Linked DNA regions of Homo sapiens: all the other regions are linked to region 2. Evidence: promoter capture Hi-C in 16 types of primary human blood cells and fetal thymus (Javierre and others, 2016). All regions are on one chromosome and are shown on one strand. Each heading gives the region's core, a stretch centred on a gene start or on the middle of the fragment in contact. The rest is flanking DNA. Distances are from core to core; before and after follow the strand shown. Region 1 overlaps LOC283387 (a long non-coding RNA gene). Region 2 holds the start of TSFM (Ts translation elongation factor, mitochondrial). Region 3 holds the start of OS9 (OS9 endoplasmic reticulum lectin).

What was found. Contacts are between HindIII fragments. The CHiCAGO score rates a contact against its expected background, and 5 or more counts as called.
Region 1: a fragment that was not itself captured here is called in contact with the fragment with the promoter of TSFM in region 2 in 15 of 17 cell types (naive CD4 T cells, naive CD8 T cells, total CD4 T cells and 12 more); the score reaches 12.8 in naive CD4 T cells.
Region 3: a contact is called between the fragment with the promoter of OS9 here and the fragment with the promoter of TSFM in region 2, in 2 of 17 cell types (naive B cells and neutrophils). The highest score is 6.1, in naive B cells.

What each region holds. Positions count from the first base shown.
Region 1 is chr12:57,878,476-57,882,908 of GRCh38, forward strand. The region is part of intron 1 of LOC283387 (a long non-coding RNA gene); the gene reads right to left. The region is part of intron 1 of LOC124902948 (a long non-coding RNA gene); the gene reads left to right. Among named protein-coding and RNA genes, the nearest start is that of CTDSP2, 34 kb to the left of the region's middle. The HindIII fragment of the contact is 2,613 bases long and covers 530-3,142 here.
Region 2 is chr12:57,781,162-57,785,605 of GRCh38, forward strand. It overlaps TSFM (Ts translation elongation factor, mitochondrial), which reads left to right and starts at 1,626. Exons shown (of 6, transcript NM_005726.6): 1 at 1,626-1,697; 2 at 1,949-2,122. The coding sequence starts at 1,641. EEF1AKMT3 (EEF1A lysine methyltransferase 3) reads left to right here. Exons shown (of 3, transcript NM_015433.3): 3 at 1-1,380. RefSeq lists enhancers at 1,387-2,256, 1,610-1,679. The HindIII fragment of the contact is 6,425 bases long and covers 1-4,444 here.
Region 3 is chr12:57,692,340-57,696,847 of GRCh38, forward strand. It overlaps OS9 (OS9 endoplasmic reticulum lectin), which reads left to right and starts at 1,793. Exons shown (of 15, transcript NM_006812.4): 1 at 1,793-1,984; 2 at 2,411-2,587; 3 at 3,441-3,504; 4 at 3,623-3,699; 5 at 3,936-4,034. The coding sequence starts at 1,823. RefSeq lists enhancers at 1,422-1,996, 1,984-2,033. The HindIII fragment of the contact is 11,057 bases long and covers 1-4,508 here.

The DNA.
Region 1 (4,433 bases), core at 586-3,085, 98 kb after region 2:
TTGTCCAACCAAAGAAGTAAGATGAAGGATAAAGAACCCCTACATTTTCGGCTGAGAAATTGGCCATCTAATTAGCTATACAGTTTCCTGTTGTGACTTGGGGTGCAGATTACACAATCTGCGGCTGTAGCGGTACACTACTTAGTAGAAAAATGTAGAGTGTTGGATTGGGTTGGCTCCTTCTTGTTAATATTAATAAAGTACTGTAAAAAGGTAAGTTGCTGGCCTGGTGCAGTGGCTCACGCCTGTAATCCCAGCACTTTGGGAGACCAAGGTGGGCGGATCACGAGGTCAGGAGTTCGAGGCCAGCCTGATCAGCATGGTGAAACCCCGTCTCTACGAAAAATACAAAAATTAGCCCAGCATGGTGGTGCACACCTGTAATCCCAGCTACTCGGGAGGCTGAGGCAGGAGAATCTCTTGAACCCAGGAGGTGGAGGTTGCAGTGAGCTGAGATCATGCCACTGCCCTCCAGCCTGGGTGACAGAGCGAGACTCCGTCTCAAAAAAAAAAAAAAAAAAAAAGGGTAAGCTTATGTTCAAACTAGCTTACCCCAAAACAGAGAAGGAAGAAAATACAGCTTTGATAAGAGAAGCCCTTTCTGCCTACGGTAAAAAAAAAAAAAAAAAAAAAAAAAAATGGCTGAGAGGACTAGAAAGCCCTGAAAACTTTGTCCCAAGGTATGTTAGTATTAGGTTAGTGCAAAAGTAATTGCGTTTTTTGCCATCGAAAAGAATTGCAAAACTGCAATTACTTTTGCACTAACCTAATGTGAACAGAAACAGGGATGGGGGATTGCATTGTATGGGATATGGGATATGAGATATGGGATATGGGATACAAGATATGGGATATGGGATATGGAACATGGGACATGGGACATGGGATATGGATATGGTCTATGGGATATGAATATGGGCTATGGGACATGGATATGAGGTATGGGATATGGATATAGGCTATGGGATATGGATGTGGGATATGGATATGGGATGTGGGATATGGATATGGGATATGGGATGTGGATGTGGGATATGGATATGGGATATGGGCTATGCCATATGGGATATGGATGTGGGATATGGGATATGGATGTGGAATATGGATATGGGCTATGGGCTATGGATGTGGGATATGGATATGGGCTATGGGCTACGGATGTGGGATATGGGATATGGAATATGGGATATGGATGTGGGATATGGGATATGGGATATTGATGTGGGATATGGATGTGGGATATGGATATGGGCTATGGGCTATGGATGTGGGATATGGATATGGGATATGGATATGGGCTATGGATGTGGGATATGGGATATGGAATATGGGACATGGGATATGGGCTGTGGGATATGAGATATGGGGTATGGATGTGGGATATGGGATATGAGATATGGGCTATGGATGTGGGATATGGGCTATGGACTATGGGATATGGATGTGGGCTATAGGATATGGAATATGGGATATAGGATATGGGATATGGTTGATGGCTTATCCCTAGCCCTTTCCCAAGCACCTCCTGCTTTTTATTCCTCCTAAAACAAAGGTGACCATAACTTCCATGACAGATGTAAGTGGGACACAGCCTATTGGCAACGACCAGATTTAGAGTGCCTCCCAGGCAGTTTCTTCAAGTTGTTCAAAGGTACAGTTTGAGACTAAACGTAAGGCTGGGTATTTGGGAAGAGAACTAAGACCTATTTGCTTAGTGAAAGAAATACCCAGGCCAGACTCCAGACTCAAAGACTAGTCTCACAAAGAGCTCTGGTTTTGGCCGGGCGCGGTGGCTCACGCCTGTAATCTCAGCACTTTAGGAGGCGGAGGCGGGCGGATCGCCTGAGGTCGGGAGTTCTAGACCAGACTGACCACCATGGAGAAACCCCATCTCTACTAAAAATACAAAAATTAGCTGGGCTTGGTGGCGCCTACCTGTAATCCCAGCTACTCGAGAGGCTGAGGCAGGAAAATTCCTTGAACCTGGGAGGTGGAGGTTGCAGGGAGCCGAGATCATGCCATTGCACTCCAGCCTGGGCAACAAGAATGAAACTCTGTCTCAAGGGGAGCTCTGGTTTCATATACTAGCTCATAGAATCAACCAGAAGCAAATAAACTTGAAGCCCACAAAGAAACTTCAAGCTCAGATGACAATGGCTAGAGACTTCAACTCCTAACATAATTCTCAGGTCCCAAAGCACAACGAATTTGTCTTCACAGAACCACTGCTTTAATGTCTTCTGTGAACATTAAAACAGTGGTTCTCACACTTTTGTGTACAGAAGACGTTTATTAAAAATACAGATTATTGGGCTTCATCCCCAAAGAATCTGATTCCTTCCATCTGGGATTGGGCTTGGGGATCTGCATTATTAACAAATATCCTTGATGATCCACATGTGGGTGGCCAGGGAGCCCCGCTTTGGGAAACACTGCATTGAAGGAAATTATTACTTTTTTTTTTTGAGACGGAATCTCGCTCTGTTGCCCAGGCTGGAGTGCAGTGGTATGATCTCGGCTCACTGCAACCTCTGCCTCCTGGGTTCAAGCAATTCTCCTGCCTCAGCCTCCCCAGTAGCTGGGATTACAGGCCCATGCCACCACACCCGGCTAATATATATATATGTTTTTAGTTTTTGTATTTTTAGTAGAGACGGGGTTTCACCACATTGGTCAGGCTGGTCTCGAACTCCTGACCTCGTGATCCGCCGGCCTCGGCTTCCCAAAGTGCTGGGATTACAGGCATGAGTCACGGCGCCTGGCCTAGTATTAAATTCTTTAGGGATGATCAGCAGGACTCATTTTGTCCTGATAGTATCTGTGCACTGTGTAGGGCCCAGACTGAGAGCTCAGCACAGCCTTGTCTATTAGACCTGAAAAGCATGGGTTTCTGGAACCAAGGTGGTTTTGGGAAGTAAGCAGACTATGATTCCAGGAACTGATTTGCCCTGAGTCCCTGCTCCCTTACTTCTTGATCATGTTTAATTCTGCCTTGGCTCTATTAGGATTGCTTTGTCCAGACACTGACCTGGCAGTGAGTGTGCCTGGGATCCTCTGTCAGTGTCCCTTGTATAGTCAGAGAGTTCTGGACACATCTGTGGGAGGTAGAGAATGTGACAAACCCTGGGGAGAGTGTTTACTAAGCTTTTCCATGTTTATTTTCTTTCCTCCATCTCACCTTAGGACAGGGAGTATTCTGAAAGCCTTAGTGAAGCAGTGACACTTTTCTGGCACCTTGAATGACTCATATGTCTCAGTGCCACACACCCTCCATTGAAGGCCTTGGGATTGTCAAGGTCAGGATATTTAAAGTCACATTCTTGGGAGTGATCTGGACATTGCCAGGTCAGCTCAGGATGAGGGAGGTGCCCAGAGACAGCTGTCAGTGTCAGTGCCCATAGTTTATGGTGAGTCTAATAGTAAATGCCAGTTATAGGTATGGTCTTATCATTGTTTAGTTATAGCTGGTGATGGCCAAGTGACTATGGGTTTCTTTCCATTCATTCTCCTAAACTTTTTTTGTTTTTTTAAAGTAAGTGTCTTGCTTCGTTGCTGAGGATGGAGTACACTGGCATGGTGACAGCTCACTGCAGCCTTGAACTCCTGGCTCAAGTGATCCTCCTGCTTCAGCCTCCTGAGTAGCTGGGACTGCCGGCACATGCCACCATGCTCAGTTAATGTTTTCACTTTTTTTTTGTAGAGACAAGGTCTTTCTCTGTTGCCCAGGCTGACCTCAAACTCCTGGTCTCAAGTGATCCTCCTGCCTTGGCCTTCCAAAGTGTTGGGATCACAGGCATGAGCCACTGCACCTGGTGTCATTCTCCTAAACATTTATTTTTTTTTCTATTTTTCTTTCTTGTTTGCTTTTTCTTTTCTTTTTATTTCTTTTTTTTAAACTGAATCTTATGTTTACTGAGATCTCCTAAACATTTAATTCAGCACCTACTATATGCAAAACGCCAGGGAGAATACAAAGATGTGTAGACATAACTGTACCCCAGATGAACTCACAGACTAGAAAGCAACTTGGTGGCCCTGCAGAGAGACTCAGGAGCGATAATCATACTCACAGGTAGGGTATTATAAGCTCACTAAAGAAGAGCTTCCAACCTGCACTGGTGGAGATAATGGTGAGGCATAGGGATATCTTCTGAAAGCAAGGTCCTGAGCTGAATATACAAATTTAAGCAGAAGTTATCCAGAACAACTGCTGTTTCTGGTCAAGATGCAATAACAGGGATGGACTTTACCCTCCTTCCTGGAGCAATTAAAATGTTGTATAAAATATATGAAGCAATGGTTTTGGATATCAGACAGCACAGGACAGTGATCCCTGAGAGAGGGAAAACAAGTGAACTGAGCTGTACATTTGCTCCATCCTACTGCCTTGAGAGAGTTTCCAGGCTGCTGTGCAAAGAGGAGCAACCCAGGCA
Region 2 (4,444 bases), core at 376-2,875:
TGATCTTCCTGCCTCAGCTCCCCAAGTAGCTGGGACTAGAGGCATGCGCCACCACACCCGGCTAATTTTTGTATTTTCAGTAGAGACAGGGTTTCGCCATGTTGCCCAGGGTGGTCTCAAACTCCTGGGCTCAAGTGATCCACCCGCCTTGCCTCCCAAAGTGCTGGGATTGCAGGCATGGCCCACTGTGCTAGCCTAGGATTTTTTTTTTTTTTTAAGAAAGAATTAAGCCTTAAAAATCTATTGTGCAAGAACCCAACTTTTACTCAGGAGCTGAGAAGGAAGAAGCCTCAAACCACCCATTTCCTGCTTTTTAGAGATAGAGTCTAGTGGAACCATGGCTCTAACTGGGTCAAGTCCTCCTAGCTCTGAAGCTAAGGCTGCAGAGCTGTCCTTTGGACTGTATTTCTTCATGCTTTCCAGAGTTAGAGCCTTGATCACGGAACATCATTGTGTGCAGAAGAATACTGTACCTAGTACTAAGTTCTTTTCATCTTTGATTTTTCTTTAGCTTCATCAGTCCTTCCTTCCTAATCTCTAATCCCCTGAAGCCTAACACAGTTCCTAATGTGTTTTGCCTTAACCTCTTTTCTCTTCCCACATTGGTACTTCTGGTTGGGGCTCTCTTTACTTACTGCTTAGGCACATAGTCACCTTCTCTGGACTCCCTGCTTCCATGCTTTCTCCTTCAGTCCATTCCGCAAACTCTTGTGATCTTCCAAAATTAGCTCTGATTAGCTTTCACTTCCTGTAGAAGCAAGAACAAGCTCCTCTGCTTGGTACTTAGTCTGTGTCCATGTGATCCAAAATTACCTTCCTATTGCATTTCCTACTCCTTTGCTACGTGTATTGGACCTCTGGCCAAATTACAAAAGATGTACTCTTTGTTCTCTAAAACCACACTAAAGTTTTCTGACTTCTTTCACACTCTTTATGATAATCCTCTGCCTGAAAGGCTATTGCCACCTGTCAAAATCTTCATTATTCTTTGCCTCTTTCCTGAGCCTCTTGCTTGAATGTGATTTCTTTCTCCCTGAGACCCATAAGGTTCATCTTATGGGACCTTAATTTGTCTTGCATGGACATTTGTGATTCTCATTTTCTCACCATTAAATTACCTTGGAGGGTAGGGCTGTGGTTTACTCCTGTCTAAACCCCTGAAGCCTAACACAGTTCCTGGCACACAACAGGTGTTCAACAGATATTGTGCTCATTCAATAAATATTTACTCGCTTTGTTTAATGGATTCCACCCCTGCCTTCCTAGGTGACCTTGGACAAATTCTCGAACCCATTCACCAACCACACAAGTTTGTTGTGAGTCATAAATGGATAATGAATATAAATGCGCATTGAAAATAAACATAAAATGTTACCCACATTTCTTGTGTTGTTGTTTTGTGACGACTTTATTTCTTGGTTTCTGTTATTTTACCTGGGGTGGGAGGTGGGGGGTAATTCCCGTATGAAATGTGTCGTCTCAAGAAATCAAGTAGAGGCGAGGACTGTGTTCCTCCGGCCAGCAGGTGGCACCATACTCGTTTGGTGCGTTCCGCTGGAGAATTCTGGCCCTTCCGCCGCGCCGTAGGTTTGTTGCCTCACCAGTGCGCCCGCCGGAGGGTGTTTATCGCGGCTAGAGAGATGTCGCTGCTGCGGTCGCTGCGCGTGTTTCTGGTCGCGCGGACCGGGAGCTACCCGGTGAGAAGTCCTGGTGCTGGTACCGACCTGCTGTCCCTGCAGCTCTCCTGTGCGCCTGTACCTTTCCCTTCCTCCCAACCTCGTTTGACTCCATCTCACCTTCCCCGACAGCATTGCCTCTGCCCAGTCCAGCCCCGGTGCACCCCCCTTTGCACACTGTCCGCTCCCTAAGGTCGCTTCCCTGCCCGTGTACCCTTCACCCTCTGGAGTTTGCTGCTTCCTGCTCCTCATCCCTTTCTTATCTCATCTAGGCTGGGTCTCTTCTGCGTCAGTCGCCCCAGCCAAGGCACACATTTTATGCTGGGCCCCGTCTGTCTGCCTCGGCCTCCAGCAAGGAGCTCCTCATGAAGCTGCGGCGGAAAACAGGCTACTCCTTTGTAAATTGCAAGAAAGCTCTGGAGACTTGTGGCGGGGACCTCAAACAGGTGTGTGTGTGGAGGGGTGCAGGGCGGAGTACTAGAGCTCGACCTCAGACTCTTGGGGCGGTCACGCTGGGGAGCATAAAGTTAGACTGCTCTTCAGTGACCATAATGGCACAGTCCTAAGTGGAAATCTGGCTTAAATGACAACCTTGGCCTTGACTTTGTCTTATTTGAAAGCAGTTGAGTATCCCAGGATTAACAAACCAGACTGTTACGGTGTTTCTTGTTGCCTGGAGCTGAAAGGGTTTGTGTGAGCTTTGGAGTCAGATTGTTCAGGAGTCAAATTGTGGGGCCCCCACACTGTCTGACTTTAGACTTTTTTTTTTTTTTTCAGACGGAGTCTTGCTCTGTGGCCCAGGCCGGCGTGCAATGGCACGATGTTGGCTCACTGCAACCTCCGCCTCCCGGGTTCAAGCGATTCTCCTGCCTCAGCCTCCTGAGTAGTTGGGATTACAGGCGTGCGCCACGACACCCGGCTATTTTATTTTTTATTTTTTATTTTTTTTTGTATTTTTAGTAGAGATGGGGTTTCGCCGTGTCGGCCAGGCTGGTCTCGAACTCCTGGCCTCAGGTGATCCGCCCGCCTCGGCTTCCCAGAGTGGTGGGATTACAGGAGTGAGCCACCGCGCCCGGCTGACTTTAGACATCTTAATCTTTCAGAGTTGTGTAGTTTTTGCCTGTACGGTCATGCGTCTCTTAATAGGAAGATACATTCTGAGAAATGGCGTCGTTAGGAGATTTTGGCTTATGCACATCATAGAGTACCTACACAAACCTAGATGGTATATTGTACTACAACCTGGGCTATATGGAATTGCCAGCTGCTCCTAGGCTACAAACCGTTACAAAATGTTACTGGACTGAATACTGTAGGCAGTTGTAACACAGTGGTAAGTATTGTGTATCTAAACATAGAAAAAGTACAGTAAATAGGCATAAAAGATAAAAAACGATACATCTCCATAGGGAACTTATCATGTATGGAGCTTGCAGGACTGGAAGTTGCTCTGGGTGAGTCAGTGAGTGGTGAGTGAATATGAAGGCCTGCCTTAGGACACTATGGTGCACTATAGTAGACGTTAAAGCACAGTACACATAAGCTACATTACATTTATAAGAAATTTTTTTCTGTGATAATAAGTTAACCTTAGTTTAATGTAACATTTTTATTTTATAAACTTTTAACATGTTTTAAATTTTTGGACTCTTTTGTAATAACAGCATAAAACACATATTGTACAGCTGTACCAAAATATTTTTCTTTATGCACTTTTTCTGTGAGCTTTTTTCTGTTTTTAAAATTTTAAACTTTTTTTGGCTGGGCGTGGTGGCTCATGCCTGTAATCTCAGAACTTTGGGAGGCTGAGGCAAGCGGATCACCTGAGGTTGCGAGTTCGAGACTAGCCTGACCCACACGGAGAAACCTCGTCTCTACTAAAAAAAAATAAAATTAGCCTGGTGTGGTGGCAAGGGCCTGTAATCCCAGCTACTCGGGAGGCTGAGGTAGGATAATCTCTTGAACCCAAAAGGCGGAGGTTGTGGTGAGCCGAGATCGTGCCATTGCACTCCAGCCTGGGCAATAAGAGTGAAACTCTGTCTCAAAAAAAAAAACAACAACTTTTTTTATTGAAATATCTTTTTTTTTTTTTTTTTTTTTTTTTTTTGAGACAGAGTCTTACTCTGTCCCCCAGGCTGGACTGCAGTGGCACAATCTTGGCTCACTGCAAGCTCCACCTCCCAGGTTCACACCATTCTCCTGCCTCAGCCTCCTGAGTAGCTGGGACTACAGGCGCCCGCCACCACGCCCGGCTAATTTTTTGTATTTTTAGTAGAGACAGGGTTTCACCGTGTTAGCCAGGATGGTCTCGATCTCCTGACCTTGTGATCCGCCCACCTCAGCCTCCCAAAGTGTCGGGATTACAGGCGTGAGCCACAGCGCCTGGCCAAAACTTTTTTTAAGTTAAAAAATTGTTTTGTTAAAAACGGAGACACAAACACATACATTAGCCTAGGCCTACACAGGAGTGGCATCATCATTAACACTGTGTTCCACTTTCACATCTTGTCCTGCTGGAAGGTCTTCAGGGGCAGTAACGGGCATGGACCTGTCATCTCCTATGATAACAATGTTTTTTTCTGGAATACCTCTTGAAGGACCTGCCTGAAGCTGTTTTACTGTTAAATTTTTTTATTTTTTATTTTTTTGAGACGGAGTCTCACTTTGTCACCCAGGCTGGAGTGCAGTGGCGCGATAGATCTTGGTTCACTGCAACCTCCGCCTCCCGGGTTCAAGAAATTCAGCCACCCGAGTAGTTTATAAGTTGG
Region 3 (4,508 bases), core at 543-3,042, 89 kb before region 2:
GAACTCTTATTTAGTCCAGACCTTCTGGACTGATCCTTTATTTTTATGTTTTCTCCTAAAGCAGAACAAATTTGATCTTCTTCAACTTTATCCCCCAGCCTTTTTATAGAATTTTTATTTCTGTAACATGGTTTTAGTTTCCAAGAGCTCTTTTTGCTTATCCGAATAGTAGTTACTCTCAAGTAGTTTCCTGTTGTTATTTTATGAATGCTCTATAATATCTCTTTGAGAAGTCTGATGATGGATTATTTTTAAATGCTTTGTTGTTTCAGACGGAGTCTAGCTCTGTGGCCCAGGCTGGAATGCAGTGCCGCAATCTCAGCTCACTGCAACTTCCGCCTCCCAGGTTCAATCAATTCTTCTGCCTCAGCCTCCTGAGTAGCTGGAACTATAGGCGCGTGCCACCATGCCCAGCTAATTTTCGTATTTTTAGTAGATACGGGGTTTCACCACGTTAGCCAGGCTGGTCTTGAGCTCCTGACCTCAAGTGATCCGCCCGTCTCGGACTCCCACAGTTTTGGGATTACAGGCGTAAGCCACCGTGCCCGGCCTATTTTTAAATTTTTTATTTTTAGTGTTTTTTCCCCTCCCTTGCAATTTATGTTTCCTCTCATTTGCTTTTCCCTTCTTGTTTGTTTCTTACTTGTATATTAAAGTCCTTCCTTAAATGTCTAATGATCTCTGGCTATTTATTTTGAAGAGTAAGAACACTAAAAAGCTGATTGGAAAGTGGAATGAGGGCTGGGGCACGTAGGCCAAAGTGTTACATGTGGAATTCATTCTAGTTATCTATATCATTAAGAGAACTCTGATAAGGGTATCTTTGGGATTTTTCGTTTTGGCTGGTGAGATTCCCCAGAGAGGGTTTTCCAAAGGTATAATCAGCCTCTTGTTTACCTTTGTTTCGTAATAAATATTCTCAAGTTTGCTAAACCAGTTAACATTCTTCTGTTTGATTTCCAGCTTCCAAAATGTTGCTGTTGTTGTCTCCTTTCCCTTTCTTACGGCCTGGAGAGTAATACATAATTTCACCTTAACTGGAAGCCCATGTATGCATGTATGTATGTATGTATGTATGTATGTATGTATGTATGTATGTACGTACTTATTTGAGACGGGGTTTCGCTGTGTTGCGCAGGCTGCACTTGAACTCCTGGGCTCAGGAGATCCTCCTGCCTCAGCCTCCGGAGTAGCTGATACCACAGGTGCGTGCCACCACGTCTGGCTGCCCGCATTATTTCTCTAGGATTTTTACTGGAGGTCATTTTACTGGAGGTCAACTGCAGGATCGTATAGGAAGGTTTTGACACAAATTTTCTGATTGCCTCAAAGCAATATGTATATATGAAAAGAGGTAAGCGTCCGTATAATAATTGTTTGTTTTGCAACAAGCATTTAATAACTTTCACCGGCACTGCGCACGCTACCTATCTGCCTCAATACTCCGCCCGGCGGTGGGCAGGATATAATGCAAGAGACGTCTGAAAAAGCAATGAGATGCGCATGACAGCTGGGCGAAGACAGAGGGCAAACTTAAAAGGACCAAGCGCATAGACCACGCCTCTGAAATTGGGGAACGAGGAGGGGTTTGATCTTGTCGATGATTGGCTGGTCTCTGACCAATCACGGACAGCGATTGATATTTCTAATCGTCGTGATCCACCTCCCCAGGACCTTGGAGCCACGTTTACAAATAGGAATAGGGTACGTGGGAGGGATAGAACGTACAGCCAATAAAATCATGTGGCGCCGATGGGCGTGTTGAGGCCGCTGCCTGGCTTAGGGCGGAAACAGATTCTCTGCATAAGAAGGGGAACGAAAGATGGCGGCGGAAACGCTGCTGTCCAGTTTGTTAGGACTGCTGCTTCTGGGACTCCTGTTACCCGCAAGTCTGACCGGCGGTGTCGGGAGCCTGAACCTGGAGGAGCTGAGTGAGATGCGTTATGGGATCGAGATCCTGCCGTTGCCTGTCATGGGAGGGCAGGTGAGAGGCGTATAAGGGGCGAGGGTCTGGGCAGAAGAGGAAGCGGGTAAGAGATAGAGGAAGAAGGGCAGCTCCGGAGTCTGGGGCTGGAGCCTACGGGGAATCGGGAAGAGTAGGTATTGCTTTTACGGTGACCCCTGGGGGTCGCAGACTGAGACCAATTCTCTGGGGGCCAGGAATTGGGAGAGGTGGGGCTTCCCGCTGTCAACCTTCAGGTCTCAGTTTATGATCGAAACACCCGGACTCCGCCCCCGTGGAGAAATGGGAGCGCCCTCTCCTCTCACCCACTAAATACAGCTGGAGGGCTTATGGCTTATTCTGTCTTCGACTGATCTCTTCCCCAGGGTTTGAAGAGGGATTTCGTTGTTCTCCCTGATCCCAGCCTTTCTTTGCTTCCTTGCCCCCCGACCCTCCCTTCTTTCCCAGAGCCAATCTTCGGACGTGGTGATTGTCTCCTCTAAGTACAAACAGCGCTATGAGTGTCGCCTGCCAGCTGGAGCTATTCACTTCCAGCGTGAAAGGGAGGAGGAAACACCTGCTTACCAAGGGCCTGGGATCCCTGAGTTGTTGAGCCCAATGAGAGATGCTCCCTGCTTGCTGAAGGTGAAAGGGACTGGGTTAGATAGAATGAGGGCTTGGAAACTAGCAGTTCATCCAAGAACTGGAGTCCACTGAATGAGGCAGGATCTAGGGGACCTGTAGTGGTTAAGAAGACCACTGGAGGAGTAGACAGATTACACGGACAGGAAAGAAGCAAAGAATCCTGCAACCACTGATGACACTTTGCTGAACGTAGGAGCAGGTTAGGATAGAAGATCTCAGAAAAGGGCTAAAGCAAGATTGAGGGTCTGCGTGGGGTAGGAGGAGTACTTCCTTAAGCCTACTTGCTAAAGTCACCCCCTGCCCTATCACTCTGCTCCAGTATCCTGTTTTATTTTCATCGTAGCACTTTTCATGATCTGAAATCATATTTACTGAATCAGTTTGTTTATTTTCGGTCTGATTCCCCGCATTAGAGTGTAAACTCCATGAGGTCAAAGAATTAATCTTGTTCACAGTTGTATTCCCAGTGGCCAGAACAGTGCCAGGAATGTTCAAGAAGTTCAATTAATATTTAATTTTGGGTTCTTCTATGTTTCCCTAATATAATTGCTTCAGGGATACCATAATTTCTTATCTTTATGGAGGGCAAATAAGGATTTAAAAAATCTTTTAAAAGGGAGGAATGGAAAGACCACAAGTGGAAAACAGACTTTAGAGATATCTCTCCAAGTCACAGAAGGAAAGCAGCCCTCCCTCCTTACTGAAAGTCTGGAGAATTGAGAGTGGAAGTGAAGGGAAGAGAATTGAGTGTGTAAGTAGATGAGAGGTTATGTGTCTTGGAGCCAGGAGACTCTGGTTCCAAGAAAAGATGTCTGCACTCCATCCCCCTGATTGTTTATTTTTTAATTGTCAGACAAAGGACTGGTGGACATATGAATTCTGTTATGGACGCCACATCCAGCAATACCACATGGAAGGTAACTCACTCCTATATTTTCCTTAAGCCCTTAGTGTCATATCATGGAAGTTCCCCAGTTCCCTCCTCCTCCTCCTCCTCTTAAGAGTAACAGTGCTTCACTGTGGCTTCCCTTGCAGATTCAGAGATCAAAGGTGAAGTCCTCTATCTCGGCTACTACCAATCAGCCTTCGACTGGGATGATGAAACAGCCAAGGTGGCAAGAGTGTGGGATTCAGGAAGAAAGGGTTCTGGCCACCGGCTGAGAGCCCTGACAAGAAGGGGAGGGTCAAGATTAGCTGATCTGTTTCTTGGGGCTTGGTGGCCATTAGGACAAAGTTTCCTGGGGCCTGGGGGCACAGGCCATTCTTTTGTCTCTTTGGGGACGCAGTGCCATCCTTCCTCTTTGCTATCTTTCTCATGTCCCCCATTCCTGCCTCATGTCTTCTCCAGGCCTCCAAGCAGCATCGTCTTAAACGCTACCACAGCCAGACCTATGGCAATGGGTCCAAGTGCGACCTTAATGGGAGGCCCCGGGAGGCCGAGGTTCGGGTGAGTCTTGAGAGAGGGAAGTTGACACTCCCACAGGGACAGTTCAGATTCTAAGGGAAGAGGGTTGCATCTTATAGTCGGGGCGGGGGCGGGGGGGGTCCCCTCCCAGACCCTAAATCCAAAGTTTAAAACATATTTCCAGCCGGGCGCAGTGGCTTATGCCTGTAATCCCAGCACTTTGGGAGGCCGAGGCGGGCAGATCACCTGAGGTCAGGAGTTCAAGACCAGCCTGACCAATATGGTGAAACCCCATCTCTACTAAAAATACAAAAATTAGCCGGGCGTGGTAGCGGGTGCCTATAGGCCCAGCTACTCGGGAGGCTGAGACAGGAGAATTGCTTGAACCTGGGAGGCGGACGTTGCAGTGAGCCGAGGTCGTGCCACTGTGCTCCAACCTGGGTGACAGAGTGAGACTCTGTCTCAAAAAAGAAAAGAAAAAAAAAAACCCACATTATTTCCAGGCCGGGCACGGTG